Regions from separate parts of the Homo sapiens genome. Here region 1 is linked to region 2. The links are contacts of gene promoters, found by promoter capture Hi-C in blood cells and fetal thymus (Javierre and others, 2016). All regions are on one chromosome and are shown on one strand. Each heading gives the region's core, a stretch centred on a gene start or on the middle of the fragment in contact. The rest is flanking DNA. Distances are from core to core; before and after follow the strand shown.

The links. Contacts are between HindIII fragments. The CHiCAGO score rates a contact against its expected background, and 5 or more counts as called.
Region 1: a fragment that was not itself captured here is called in contact with the fragment with the promoter of AIFM1 in region 2 in 4 of 17 cell types (total CD4 T cells, neutrophils, total B cells and 1 more); the score reaches 7.1 in total CD4 T cells.

What each region holds. Positions count from the first base shown.
Region 1 is chrX:129,627,057-129,633,491 of GRCh38, reverse strand. No RefSeq gene overlaps it. Among named protein-coding and RNA genes, the nearest start is that of APLN, 25 kb to the left of the region's middle. The HindIII fragment of the contact is 4,202 bases long and covers 483-4,684 here.
Region 2 is chrX:130,163,835-130,170,469 of GRCh38, reverse strand. AIFM1 (apoptosis inducing factor mitochondria associated 1) reads left to right here and starts at 4,629. Exons shown (of 16, transcript NM_004208.4): 1 at 4,629-4,919. The coding sequence starts at 4,814. It also overlaps a transcript of RAB33A not described here. RefSeq lists an enhancer at 4,641-4,980. The HindIII fragment of the contact is 8,785 bases long and covers 732-6,635 here.

The DNA of each region.
Region 1 (6,435 bases), core at 1,334-3,833, 530 kb after region 2:
CAAATGTTTAGAACGAACCTTCCAGATGTGACATTTTTAAGCACCTACTAAGTGCTAGCCATTATGGTAGGATATGCTTTCTATGCTGGTTGGTTGTCATCTTTTTCTTTTTTCTTTTCTTTTTTTTTTTTTTTTTGAGACAGGGTTTCACTCTGTTGCCCAGGCTGGGGTACAATGGCGCGATCTCACTGCAACCTCCACCTCCTGGATTCAAGAGATTCTCTTGTGTGCCATCACGCCTGGCTAATTTTTTTATTTTTAGTAGAGACGGGGTTTCACCATGTTGCCCAGGCTGGTCTCGAACTCCTGACCTCAGGTGATCTGCCCGCCTCAGCCTCCCAATGTGCTGGGATTGTAGGCATGAGCCACAGTGCCTGGCCCTGGTTGTCATCTTATCTCTTCTTTATAAAAAGTTATTGAGACAGGCATGGGTATCTTCAACAGATGAGAAAACAAAAGCTCAAGGGGAGTAAACTGAAGCTTGGGTGTATTAAACATTGAACATCTCTTTAGCAGGGACGTCTCCTTACTAGCTCCAGGAGGGACCACTGGGATGAACGCTGACCCATGGCCTATCTCTGGTGACATTGGGCTGAGGCAGGTGAATGCATTCAAAGCATTAGAGACGCCTTACTGCCTGCTGCAGCCCCATCCCCTCACTAAGTCTGCCCTGTCAGGGATGACTGTAGGGTAACTCCAGTCTCCAAGGCCAGGCATGTGTTATTTATTCACAACATGACACAGCTGCTGGCCACAACAGACAGAACATCTTGTGGGTTGGGTTGGGGGTGGGTGGGGCGGTGGTTCCTAGTTGCCATGGAAACTTGAGAAGGTGTCAGGAACACCACATCATGTAAACATTCCATAATTATTCATTTGGACTGGGGCGGCAGCAGACAGTCACTTCGCCAATTACTAAACGCTTGGCCTTGCTGGGCCACGTCCAAGGCTGGTGGGCCTGGTGGGTGTGGTTCCTCCTTTGGCTGTCCAGGAACCGCCCAAGCGTGTGGGCTGCTGCCAGTGGCTTTCCTGGGACTTCACTGGGGCTCACTGAGCACTGAGCTTTCTCCAGTCGCACCCCTCCACCAGGGCATCCTTCCCCTGTCTTAGTCTGTTTGTGCTGCTATAACAACATACCTGAGACTAAGTCACTTATAACTGGAAATCTCTTTCTCACAGTTCTGCAGGCCGGGAAGTCCAAGATCAAGCTGCTGGCAGGTTCAGTTGTCTGTTGAGGGCAGCTCTCTGCATCCAAGATGGCACCTTGTTGCTGCATCCTCTGGAAGGGAGGAACACTTGTGTCCTCAGGTGGTGGAAAGGACAGAAGAGCAAAAGGGAAGGAATGCTGTGTCCTCGCATGGCAGAAGAGGAGAAGCCAACAAACCAACTCCTTCAAGCCCTTTTATAAGGGCCCTAATCCCATCCATGAATGCTCCACCCTCATGACTCACCTCCGAAAGTCCCTGCCTCTTAATACTGTCATATTCGCTTTACGTTTCGACACATGAATTTTGGGGGACACATTCAGACTGTAGCACCCTCCTTTGAACTCCACCTCCAGTAAGATAGCCCTTCTGCCTAACCCTGCCTGCCTCATGCCTCTCCTTAGTTCATAACACCCCTCTTTCATCTGAGCTTGTTTGCATTTGCTTGCTTTTGCTGTAGCAGGGATCATGCTGGATTGGGAGTCTGAGCACTGACTCTGGGCCCAGCTCTGTGACTCACCCACTGAGTATTCCTGGGCAAGGCCTTTGACCTCTCTGGGCCTCAGTTTCCCTCTCTGTAGTCTGTTTGCTAGTTGCTCTCCCCCTCTAGACTGTGAGCTCTCTAATTGCAGGGACAGGTCTCTGGTCCATTGCTGTAGTTCCAGCCCCCTGTACAGGCACATAGTAGGTGTTTAAGAAGTGTTAAATGACCAGAGATAATAATGGGCTGCCCTGTACCCTCCTCTTCCACTCCTATTCAGATTTTTCCACCCTGGTTCAGTCTCCTTAGGGCCCTGCTATCCCTGCAAAGGTCTGAGAAACTCATGGCAAAGCCTTCATTGGGCTAATGGCCCTACCATTCCTAAAAGAGGCCAGGAGCGAGATACTTTAAGCTCCAAGATAGAGGTAGGGTGGAGACCTTGGGGCCTCTGGCAACTCCAACTTGTTCCCTGCTATGCCACCTCCAAGCAGGGGTGGCTGTGAGTGTGTGAATGAGTGGGCCTTCAATCCGCAGGGGCATCAGCTCCACTACAAGCTGCCTTGCTCAGCGAAATGGCAGTATAACCTAGTGGTTAGAAGCATAGGTATTGAAGTCAGATGGCCTGAGTTCAGATCCCAGCTTTACTTCTTATCAGCTGGGAGACTAAGGGCAAGGCACTGAACTTCTCGGGGCCAGTTTCCTTATCTATAAGATGGAGGCAATGATAGTGCCTGCCTCATAGGGACCATGTGTGTTAATGCTATGTGTGTGTGTGTGTGTGTGTGTGTGTGTGTGTGTGTGTGTGTGTGTGTTTCTGATAATGCTTGGCACCAAGTAAGCAATCAGTAAAAATGAAGGGGGAAGCAAGAGGGGAGCTCTTTATCCCAAGTAAGGGTGGGGCATCTCTCCCTTTAATCTACTCCCTCCGCTCATTGCCATTACCCCAGTTTCTGGTCAGAGTTGTCCTACTTTCCCATGGGAAAAAAGCCCAGGCTGGCTATTCTAGTGTCACTGATCTGGACCCAGCAGGACCCAGACCAGGGCAGAGTTTTTTATTCTCGTGGCCTAGTCCGTCCCAGCTCCCCTGCAGCAACAATCAGTTTCATTTATTTATTTATGCTGCGTTTGTTGAGCACCTAGTCTATGCCACTCGCACGCTTCAAGTGTTTCTTGGATCGATTCTCTAAACTCTGCTTAGAGGAACTCCTACCTTAACTGTTTGACAGTCCCTTTTTCTTGAGCATCGAGTCTCCTCCAAACTATGGCCCTCCCATTCTGCCACTCAGTGGCTCTGTGATCCTGGACCAAATCCCTCCCCATTCTGTACCTCAATTTCTTTAGCTGGTAAATGAGGGTCTGGAAGGTTTCTCTGGGGCCCTGTGTAGCTCAGGTTGTTATAGATGACTGGTTCACTGGCTCCTTGTCCCAGGGTCAGAATGAATTGTGTGTATCCTAGGAGCTCACAAAGGGCAGGGCTTGGAAGTTTGAGCCCCTGGTTTCCTGCCTGCTGGGGTAGACACAGTCTCCAGTCTCAAGGTGCTCCAGGTTTCCTGGGGAAAAACTAAGGCCCATGGTGGGAGCAGGGGTGGGGCAGGATTCCTAAAAAGGAGACCTCCATTTCCTCAGTAAGTTTCCAAATGTTGCCCAAAGTGGGCTGGACTCCAGCTGAAAGGCCTTGCCAAGGCTGGATAAAAGCAGCTCCCCAGCTCTCACTGGGGCCTTCCAGGCCTGGATGGAAACTCTTTTACTGGGCTTGTCAGCTGCTTGGAGAGCCAGCGGGACTGAGTGGCTGGAAGAGGAAATAATGGGGACAGCTCATTCGCAGTGAGAGCCAGGCTCCCAGCCCGCCTGTCTTCCATGCCGGCCCTTACTTGGCCCACGTGGATGCTCCCCACAACACTCCCTCACTGGGCCTAGAGTCCCACTGACCCGTGGCGTGCATCTTACCAGCCCACTATGCAGGGGCTTCCCCACACCACTCTCACAACTTCAACCTTAATTTGGGTTACAGCCCCTTGATTGATAGTCAAGGAATTCTCACTCATTTCCAGCCATTGCCTGGCCTGCTTGAACTGGAAACTCATTCAGTTCCCTGTGGGGGAAGAGAGTTCTCGACCTTACAGACACAAGGGAGAGGACTTGAGCAGAGGAGCAGCATGCTGAAAGTGCTGAGGCCTAATGAGAAGCCAGCACTAGACTAGAAACACTTAGAGATTGGATACCTGAATTCTAGTCCTGGCTTGGCCGTTTATTGCCTATATGACCTAGGAAAAACCATGTCACCTCTCTGCATCTGTTTCTTCATCTAAAATAGGGACAAAGCGATCCCTGTTCTGCTAACCTCACTGGATTGATAGGAGGCTCAAGCAAGCCTGTATAGTCATCCTTTGGTATCCACGGGGGTTTAGCTCCAGGACCCCGCATATACCAAGATCCATGTATACTCAAGTCCCACAGTCAGCCCTTTGAGACACATACACAAAAAGTCACCCCTCCATGTACACAGGTTTCACAATATGCGAATACTCTATTTTCAGTGTGTGTTTGGTTGAAAAAAGAAATCCACAAATAAGTGGACCAGTGCACCTCAAACCCACATTGTTCAAGGGTAAACTGTTTATGGAAAAGTACTTTTTTACCTACAGAGCACTGTAGAAATGTTCAGGGGTAGGTGACAAGATGCCCTTCCTCTTCTCCTAGGAGCCTGGCGTCCACATTTCCCCTTCCCCTCCACCATTTGCATTGGCTTCTTCCCCTTGGCCCTCAAATGTGCTCAGAGATCCCCTGTCCCTCCACTGACATTTCTTACACTTTACCTTCCCCACCAAAGTTCTGAGACAAATGGTCTACACCAGACGTTTTCCATCCTCCTACTCCTGCTCTCTGGCTTTCACTCTATGCCCCTCCTCACTCTTCATCCTCCTCAAGGTCTCTGCAGGCATTTCAGCCAATCAATCCTGCCCCCACCTCAGTCCTTTGGTTTCCATGCTTGGAAGCTTCTCTGATAGTCCCCAGTAATCCCCCATCCTGGTATTCCTGCCTTTGTCTAACCCCGTCCCCTTGCATATGGGCTGGACTAAGTGACTCGCTTCTAACAAATAGAATATGGCAAAGATGATGGGCTGCCATTTCCAAGATTAAATTGTGAGACTGACTCCTGCCTTTCTCACACACTCACCATCTCTCACTCGCTTGCTCTGAGGAAGCCAGCTGCCATGTTGTGAACTGTCCTCTGGAGAGTTCTGTGTTGCAAGGAACTGAGCCAGCCAATAGCCAGCAAGAAACTGTGGCTCTGGTCTGATAGCCAGTGAGCACCTGAAGGCTCCTGTTGACAGCCATGTGAGTGAGCTTGGAAATGGATTCTTCCCCTGTTGAGCATTGAGGTGACTGCAGCCCTGGCCAACACCTTGACTGCAGGTTGTGAGGGGGCCCGAGGCGGAGGGTCCAGCTAAGCTGTACTCAGATCCCTGACCCACAGAAACTGTGAAATAATAAACTCACTGTTTTAAGCCACTAAGGTCTGCGATAATTAGCAAAGTAAAAACCATTGCTGTTTCTTTCTTTCTTTCTTTCTTTTTTTTTTTTTGACAGAGTCTCGCTGTGTAGCCCAGGCTGGAGTGCAGTGATGTAATCTCAGCTCACTGTAACCTCCGCCTCCTGGGATCAAACGATTCTTCCACCTCAGCCTCCCGAGTAGCTGGGACTACAGGTGTGCGCCACCACACCTGGCTAATTTTTGTATTTTTAGCAGAGATGGGGTTTTGCCATGGCCGGGCTGGTCTTGAACTCCTGACCTCATGTGATCCGCCCACCTCAGCTTCCCAAAGTACTGGAATTACAGGTGTGAGCCATGGCACCTGCCCTATTGCTGTTACTTTCCAGCACCTTGGACAACACAGCTAACCAAATATCACCGGGGAGAAATCTAGCTGGTCCTAGCTTAGTAAATAAGTCCTTGTGAAATCAACAGATATGATGTGTTCCCTGTTGCCTGGGAATTAATGATCCCAGGCACACAGATGCAGGTGAACAGAAATACTCAATCATTTACTATCTGTGTGCCCAGCACCACAAAGCGTTATATCACACTCTGTGGAGTATAAAGAAGCATTCGGAAATCCAAACAACCCCAATTATCCTGATAATAGGGCAGTAAGTACGTAAATTGGGACATATTTATATAATGGAATACTATGGAGTTAAATGGAAAGAGCTAGATGTTTCAATGTGAAAAATCTCAAAAACTTGATGTTGAGCAAAAACAGCAAGTTGCAAAATGATACGTACAGGAAGTCATTGATGGAAAGTTCGAACACTCATAAAGCAATCCTGTAAATTGTTTATAGATACAATGCACTGGACAAGTATAAAAAACACACAGGAGCTGGGCGTGGTGGCTCACGCCTGTAATCCCAGCACTTTGGGAGGCCGAGGTGGGCAGATCACGAGGTCAAGAGATCGAGACCATCCTGGCCAACATGGTGAAACCCCACCTCTAAGAAAATTACAAAAATTAGCTGGGTGTGGTGGCGCACCCCTGTAGTCCCAGCTACTCGGGAGGCTGAGGCTGGAGAATCACTTACCCAGGAGGCGGAGATTGCAGTGAGCTGAGATTGTGGTACTGCACTCCAGTCTGGCAACAGAGCGAGACTCTGTCTCAAAACAAAACAAACAAACAAACAATAACAACAACAAAATAGGAAAGTTATAGGCATCTCCCTTGAGCTCCAGACTCATGTACTAAACTGC
Region 2 (6,635 bases), core at 3,380-5,879:
TCCCCCTACATATTTCATAAGCTAAGGTAACACTGACACATGTCACTAGCACTGACTCGTGAGTTATTGCTAATGCCATCAAGGTCAGGGATTCAAACAGCACAGTTGAGCTGCCATCTTATTTGGGAGGTTGAGCTGCAGGAAGAGACAAACATGACCAAATCCATTTCTGCTGAGAGAAAAACAATTCAGTGCATCAGTGATATACCTGAAAGCAAATTGGAATGTGACTACTCAAGGACGTCCAAGTTACTCAGAATGGCATCTTCCAGTTAATAAGTTTATTAGCTGAGCTAGCAGATATATTTACAGCTAACCCTTTTATCATATATGTGGGTCGCCCATTTCTAAAACCCTACATTATACTACTCAGCATTAAAACTACCCAGATAAGGATTTCCTCTTAGTTGGCTAATCCAAAATCATCCTTATGAATACCAATTTTCATTGTATTATGTATCAATCATCATTGTACAGTATTTTTGGTTTTGATTAGTCTGATGCCTAGTTTGCTGGATCGTTCCCCTCTGTATTGGAAGTTAATGCCCCTGATGATCTTTATCTACAGAATAGCTTTAAGGTGGAGAGGGGTAACTATTAATTAGGTACATCCTGTACACAAAGTAGAAAGGGGCTTTGCCCTTTGCCAATTCACAGCTAGAATTAATGCTAACTTCCTGAGAGATATTAAAAAAACATATGTACATAATAAGATTATTTCAATGTAAGCTTCTAGCAAAAACTTGTCACTGAGTCTACTTTTGTAAGGAAGAAACTTTGATTTCTGAAAATATGATATCTCAAAATGGGCTTCTTGCCCTAATAAAAGGTGTCTGTTACTTCTGTGGGGTGAGACTTTGGGGGATTTCCACTTATATTTTTTGGAATTAATTCAATGAGTATATATTGCTTTTGAAAAAAGATAAAAATATAATTTTTAATTAAAAGGACAGGAAAACTACCTTATTGTACCTATTGTAAAAAAATTAAATGTACTGTACAATGCCCTTTGTGTTAATTGTGCATTATTAAATTACTTTCAAATACATGCAGTTGTTTTCATAGGTACCTGATTATCATGATTTTGACAGTGTTTTCCAGTCTCTTTTGCCATCAGATATAATTAACTTTGTATTTAATCAATCCATGATTATTGGTTTTTACAAATATCAATAAAAATCAATGCAAGGCTGTTAAAATGTTAAGTAAATATAAATAATTTTTACCTTACTTTGGAATTGATACTTTTTTTTTTTTTTTTTGAGATGGAGTCTCGCTCTGTCACCCGGGCTGGAGTGCAGTGACACAATCTCGGCTCACTGCAAGCTCCGCCTCCCAGGTTCACGCCATTCTCCTGCCTCAGCCTCCCAAGTAGCTGGGACTACAGGCGCCCGCCACCACGCCTGGCTAATTTTTTTGTATTTTTAGTAGAGACGGGGTTTCACTGTGTTAGCCAGGCTGGTCTCGATCTCCGGACCTCGTGATCCGCCCGCCTTGGCCTCCCAAAGTGCTGAGATTACAGGCATGAGCCACCGTGCCCGGCCTGGAATTGATACTTTCAATATTTATCCCCTGGCCTAAAGTGATCCACCCTCCTCGGCCTCCCAAAGTGCTGGGATTACAGGCATGAGCCACAGAGCCTGACCATATTTTCAATATTTATCCAAAGGAGCTCTAGATAAAATGTCACCCATTGCCTGCACTTCTGAACACTGATCTACTCTGCTTAATGGGTAAGGGAGCCCTGGATCATCTTCACCACATAATGACTACTTCCTAGGCCTGGCACAGTGGCTCACACGTGTAATCCCAACACTTTGAGAGGCTGAGGCAGCAGGATTGCTTGAGCCCAGGAGTTCAAGACCAGCCTGGGCAACGTAATGAGACTGTCTCTTAAAGAAAACCAAAAAACAAAACTACTTCCTGGGTTAAACTTCACAGAAGGGTGTCTTTGTAGGCCGGGCGAGGTGGCTCATGCCTGTAATCCAAGCACTTTGGGAGGCCGAGGCGGGCGATCACCTGAGATCAGGAGTTCAAGACCAGCCTGGACAACATTGTGGAACCCCGTCTCTACTAAAAATAGAAAAATTAGCAGGGCGCGGTGGCATCTGCCTGTAATCCCAGCTACTCGGGAGGCTGAGGCAGGAGAATTGCTTGAACCTGGGAGGCAGAAGTTGCAGTGAGCCGAGATACTGCCACTGCACTCCAGCCTGGGTGACAAAGGGAGACTCCGTCTCAAGAAAAAAAAAAAAAAAAAAAGAGTATCTTTGTAATTTCTTTCTTTTTCTTTTTTGAAATAGGGTCTCGCTCTGTCATCCAGGCTGGAGTGCACGGGAGCAATCACTGCTCACTGCAGTCTCGATCTCCTAGGCTCAAGTGATCCTCCCATCTCAGCCTCCTGAGTAGCTGGAACCACAGGCACATACCACCACGCCTGGCTAATTTAAAAAAAAAATGGTAGAGATGATGTCTCATTATGTGCTCAGGCTGGTCTGGAACTCCTGGCCTCAAGCAATCTTCCCACTCGTCCTCCCAAAGTACTGGCATTACAGGCATGAGCCACTGCACCCGGCCCTGTAATTTCATTCTCTATCCCCATTCCACCAAAAAAAAAAAAAAAGTAACTTCATTACCTCCAAAGTTAGGGCCCAACTCTTGCCAGTTCAAATCTGGCCCCCCACCATACTTGCCTGTCTTTATCACTACTTCTTTATTTTTTTCTTTTTGGAGACAGAGTCTTGCTCCATCATCCAGGCTGGAGTGCAGTGGCACAATCTTGGCTCACTGCAGCCTCCACCTGGCAGGTTCAAGCGAGTCTCCTGCCTCAGTCTCCCTAGTAGCTGGGATTACAGGCGCATGCCATGGCGCCCGGCTAATTTTTGGATTTTTTGTAGAGACGGGGTTTCACCATGTTGGCCAGACTGGTCTTAAACTCCTGACCTAAAGTGATTCACCCGCCTAGGCCTCCCAAAGTGCTGGGATTACAGGCATGAGCCACGGAGCCTGACCACATCAATACTTCTTAGTATGTACTCTCTATCATTGTCCCCCGAAAATGTGCTGGGTTTTGGTTTTTTAAAACAGTTCCAAGCCTTTTCATTTAACAAACAGCATGGTGCTTCCTCTAAGACACTTTACAAATATTAGCTCATTTAGTCTTCCGAACACCCTCCTGAGATTTGTAGATGAGGAAAATGAGGCACAATTAAGTGACTTGCCCAGGTGGCAGAGCCAGGATTCAATGTGGGTTGGTCTGGATCCAAGGTCAACATGTTTAACAATGAAAAATGTTATCTTTGGTCCGAAAGTATTCACCATCTGAAATATCAATCCTTTTCCTCTACTGTTTGAATTTTACTACTCATCCTTCAAGACACAACTCAAATAACTTCTTACACGAAGTTCTACCATAGTGATTCCATCCCATAGTCTTCTCTCTTGCTCTGTCCGGCACTACACCAGATATTATTTCAATGACCGGTATATGTCATCTCCCCAACTAGACAGTGGCCACTTCCTATATAGATGCTATGTCCAAATAAACCCATTGTAAACTGAAAATATCGTTAAGTCGAAACTGCATTTAATACCCTGATAAACCCATCATAAAGTCAAAAAACCGTAAGTTGAACCATGCTTAAGTCCAGATGCTCCTCGACTGACATGGGGTTAGGTCTCATTAAACCCATCATAAAGTCGAAAAATTGTAAGTCGAACCATTGTGAGGGGTAAGTCGGGGACCATCCGTACTTTTCATACCCAACAGAGCCCCTTTTATAGTACAATCCAAGAGGTAAGTGCTCAATAAATACTTGTTAAATGAATATGTAAGCTGAATCTTTGAAACAGGCACATTGTATGTTCTGCATGCAGCCAAAACATTATTTCCAATTTAGCTTATATCTGGCAGAGTCAAAACACTTATTTACACTCAGCCCCTCACCCTACTCCCATAACTGAAAGTTCTGCTTAGCAGACTTCTCTTCCCAGAAAGTCCGAGAAGCACGAACGCTTTTTGCTAACATCCTGCTCCCAAGCACAGAAACCACAGCAGGAGACTGTGTGTATCTGTAGCACCTGGTATACAGCATCTAGGACACACAACTGAACTAATAAATAAAGGTGACAGGCGGGAAGAAGAGCGCAGAATTACTTGTCCAGGAAACGGGTTGGGTGGGAAAGAGCCGGCAACTGGTAAAAGATGGAAGTACACGCCGGATCTGGGAAGCCAGGTTCCGCGCCTCGGACTCATGGAAAAACTGGATCTGGATCACTGCAAAAGAATCAGGAAGGCTTCGGTATCAAGTAACTGGTGTCCTAAAACCAAAAAACAAAGTGCGATGCCGGGGCTACGCTGTTGTGAGATGCTGTTATCAGTTCTCGTCACCAACACAGCGGCAGCACCAGGCACAACCGCCAATCAAAGCGGCCCCACGAGTCCCTCCTTGAACAGGTTCCTTAACTCGTTCAGTCCAACACTGTGCCACAAACTCGCGAAAACCGGCTACCTAGAGCCAGCGTCTTTGCGAGCTTGCGGCCAGCTAGTGCATGCGCAAATCCTCTCGCCGTGCGGACCAATCGCAATGCGGCAGCGAGTGCTACGCCTGCGCAGTAGGCCTCCGGTCGCCGTTCCCCTTCCCCGGCTCTAGCAGGCCGGCTTCTCTGTCCAATGCCCACCCGGAGCTGGGAGGAGGAGTCTGCGTAATGTGCGTGTGAAGAGACTGGGGGAGCTGGCCGGGGCTCACGGTGTTTGACCCGTCGGTCGTGCGTGAGAGGAAAGGGAAGGAGGAGGTCCCGAATAGCGGTCGCCGAAATGTTCCGGTGTGGAGGCCTGGCGGCGGGTGCTTTGAAGCAGAAGCTGGTGCCCTTGGTGCGGACCGTGTGCGTCCGAAGCCCGAGGCAGAGGAACCGGCTCCCAGGTGACTGACCCATTCCAGGCAACCTCCAAGTCCGAGGGCCTGGCGCCTTAGGCTCCCTGTGCCTTGCAGCCCTCTACCCCCGCGTCCCCGCGAGAAACTTAACACATAGTCACGTGAATTCCAAATTGGCAGACTCCGAACCCTGAGTCTTGCAAGCGGAGGAATTGGCTCAGCCATGCCGACCTGACCTTCAAGAGATTTGAACCCAGTAGTCGGCTTGAGGCCTTTTCCCGGGAGCGTTTGCTGTTCAGGGATCCCAGAACAACTGGCTGTCGGCGCCTCCCCGGCATCCCCACCCCCCACCCCCCTTTTTAGAGCAATGAGGTCAAGTAGACTTTGTCATTTACCGATTGAGACTTTAAACAGGACGTTTAAGCCCTACGCCTAAGTTTCTTGTGTAAATGAGGGTGTTATCTGCTCAGCCTTCCAAACCACAGATGAGATCCATGGATTTGAATGCCCAGTGAAACAGAAACGGTGCAGGGCAAGTAAGGAGTCGGTTGGTTGTGTACCAGACACCCAGAGAATTGGCCCAGACTTAATTGGAGATGCCTGAGCCGTGTACTTCTTGGTGGTCTTTAAGGCTTCAAAGAAACAGTTTGCAGAACGCATTGTATTTTGTTCTCCATTAAGTTGTTTCATCAAATTTTAGAGCTGGAAGGGATTTTGTGGTAAAGGTCAACCCACTCATTTTATAGATAATAAACTGAGGCACAGAGAGGTGAAATTACTTGCCAAAGGTCACATAGTTAATTAATAGGTAGAGCTAAGGATAGTTTGCTAGCCTCCAGGTCCTTAATCCCTTCGCTGCAACTCCATACTGCTTCCTAAAGTTGACCTCAAAAAGTTAAGAATGAATTCGGGTCTCTTCCCAGTAATTAGCCCATTGTACATCAGATATCCGTGAATTTATCTGAGCATGGCTTGAGCCTGCTTCTTTTCGTACTGCGTTACTTCATGGGGGCAATGAATGATCCACCTGTAGGAGTTGCTTTGAAAAAAAAATCAGTAATCCTTCAATGTCCACCCCTAGGGCATTTGCAATGTCAGAAGTTATCCTTGAGGCTTTTACAATACAGAAACACCTGGGTGCTTTAAAAATAAAAAGTGGAAAATATTTTCCTTGGGTTGTTAGGGTCTTTGCAAATGTGCATTTGAACAGTTTTTCCAGTTGCTATGCACAATGAAAATGTTTCCTGATAGGTGTATTTGAGTTATGTCCTGGGACATACTGCTCTTGGAACTTAAAACCTCTGCTTAGCTTTTAAACTAATGCCTTATCAATGGATGTCATCTTTGAGGGTTTTGTGTATTGAAATGATGGTGCTCTGTGCTTGTTGCACAGAAATTGAGATAACCTGAATTTTTTTTTTTTTTTTTTTTGAGACGGAGTCTCGCTTTGTCGCCCAGGCTGGAGTGCAGTGGCGCGATCTCGGCTCACTGCAATCTCCGCCTCCCGGATTCACGCCATTCTTCTGCCTCAGCCTCCAGAGTAGCTGGGACTACAGGCACCCGCCACCACGCCCGGCTAATTTTTTTTTTTTTTTTTTTGTATTTTTAGTAGAGACAAGGTTTCACCATGTTAACCAGGATGGTCTCGATCTCCTGACCTCGTGATCCGCCCACCTCGGCCTCCCAAAGCGCTGGGATTACAGGCGTGAGCCACCGCGCCCGGCGATAACCTGAATTTTTTCATCCACACTGGCCTTTCAAACT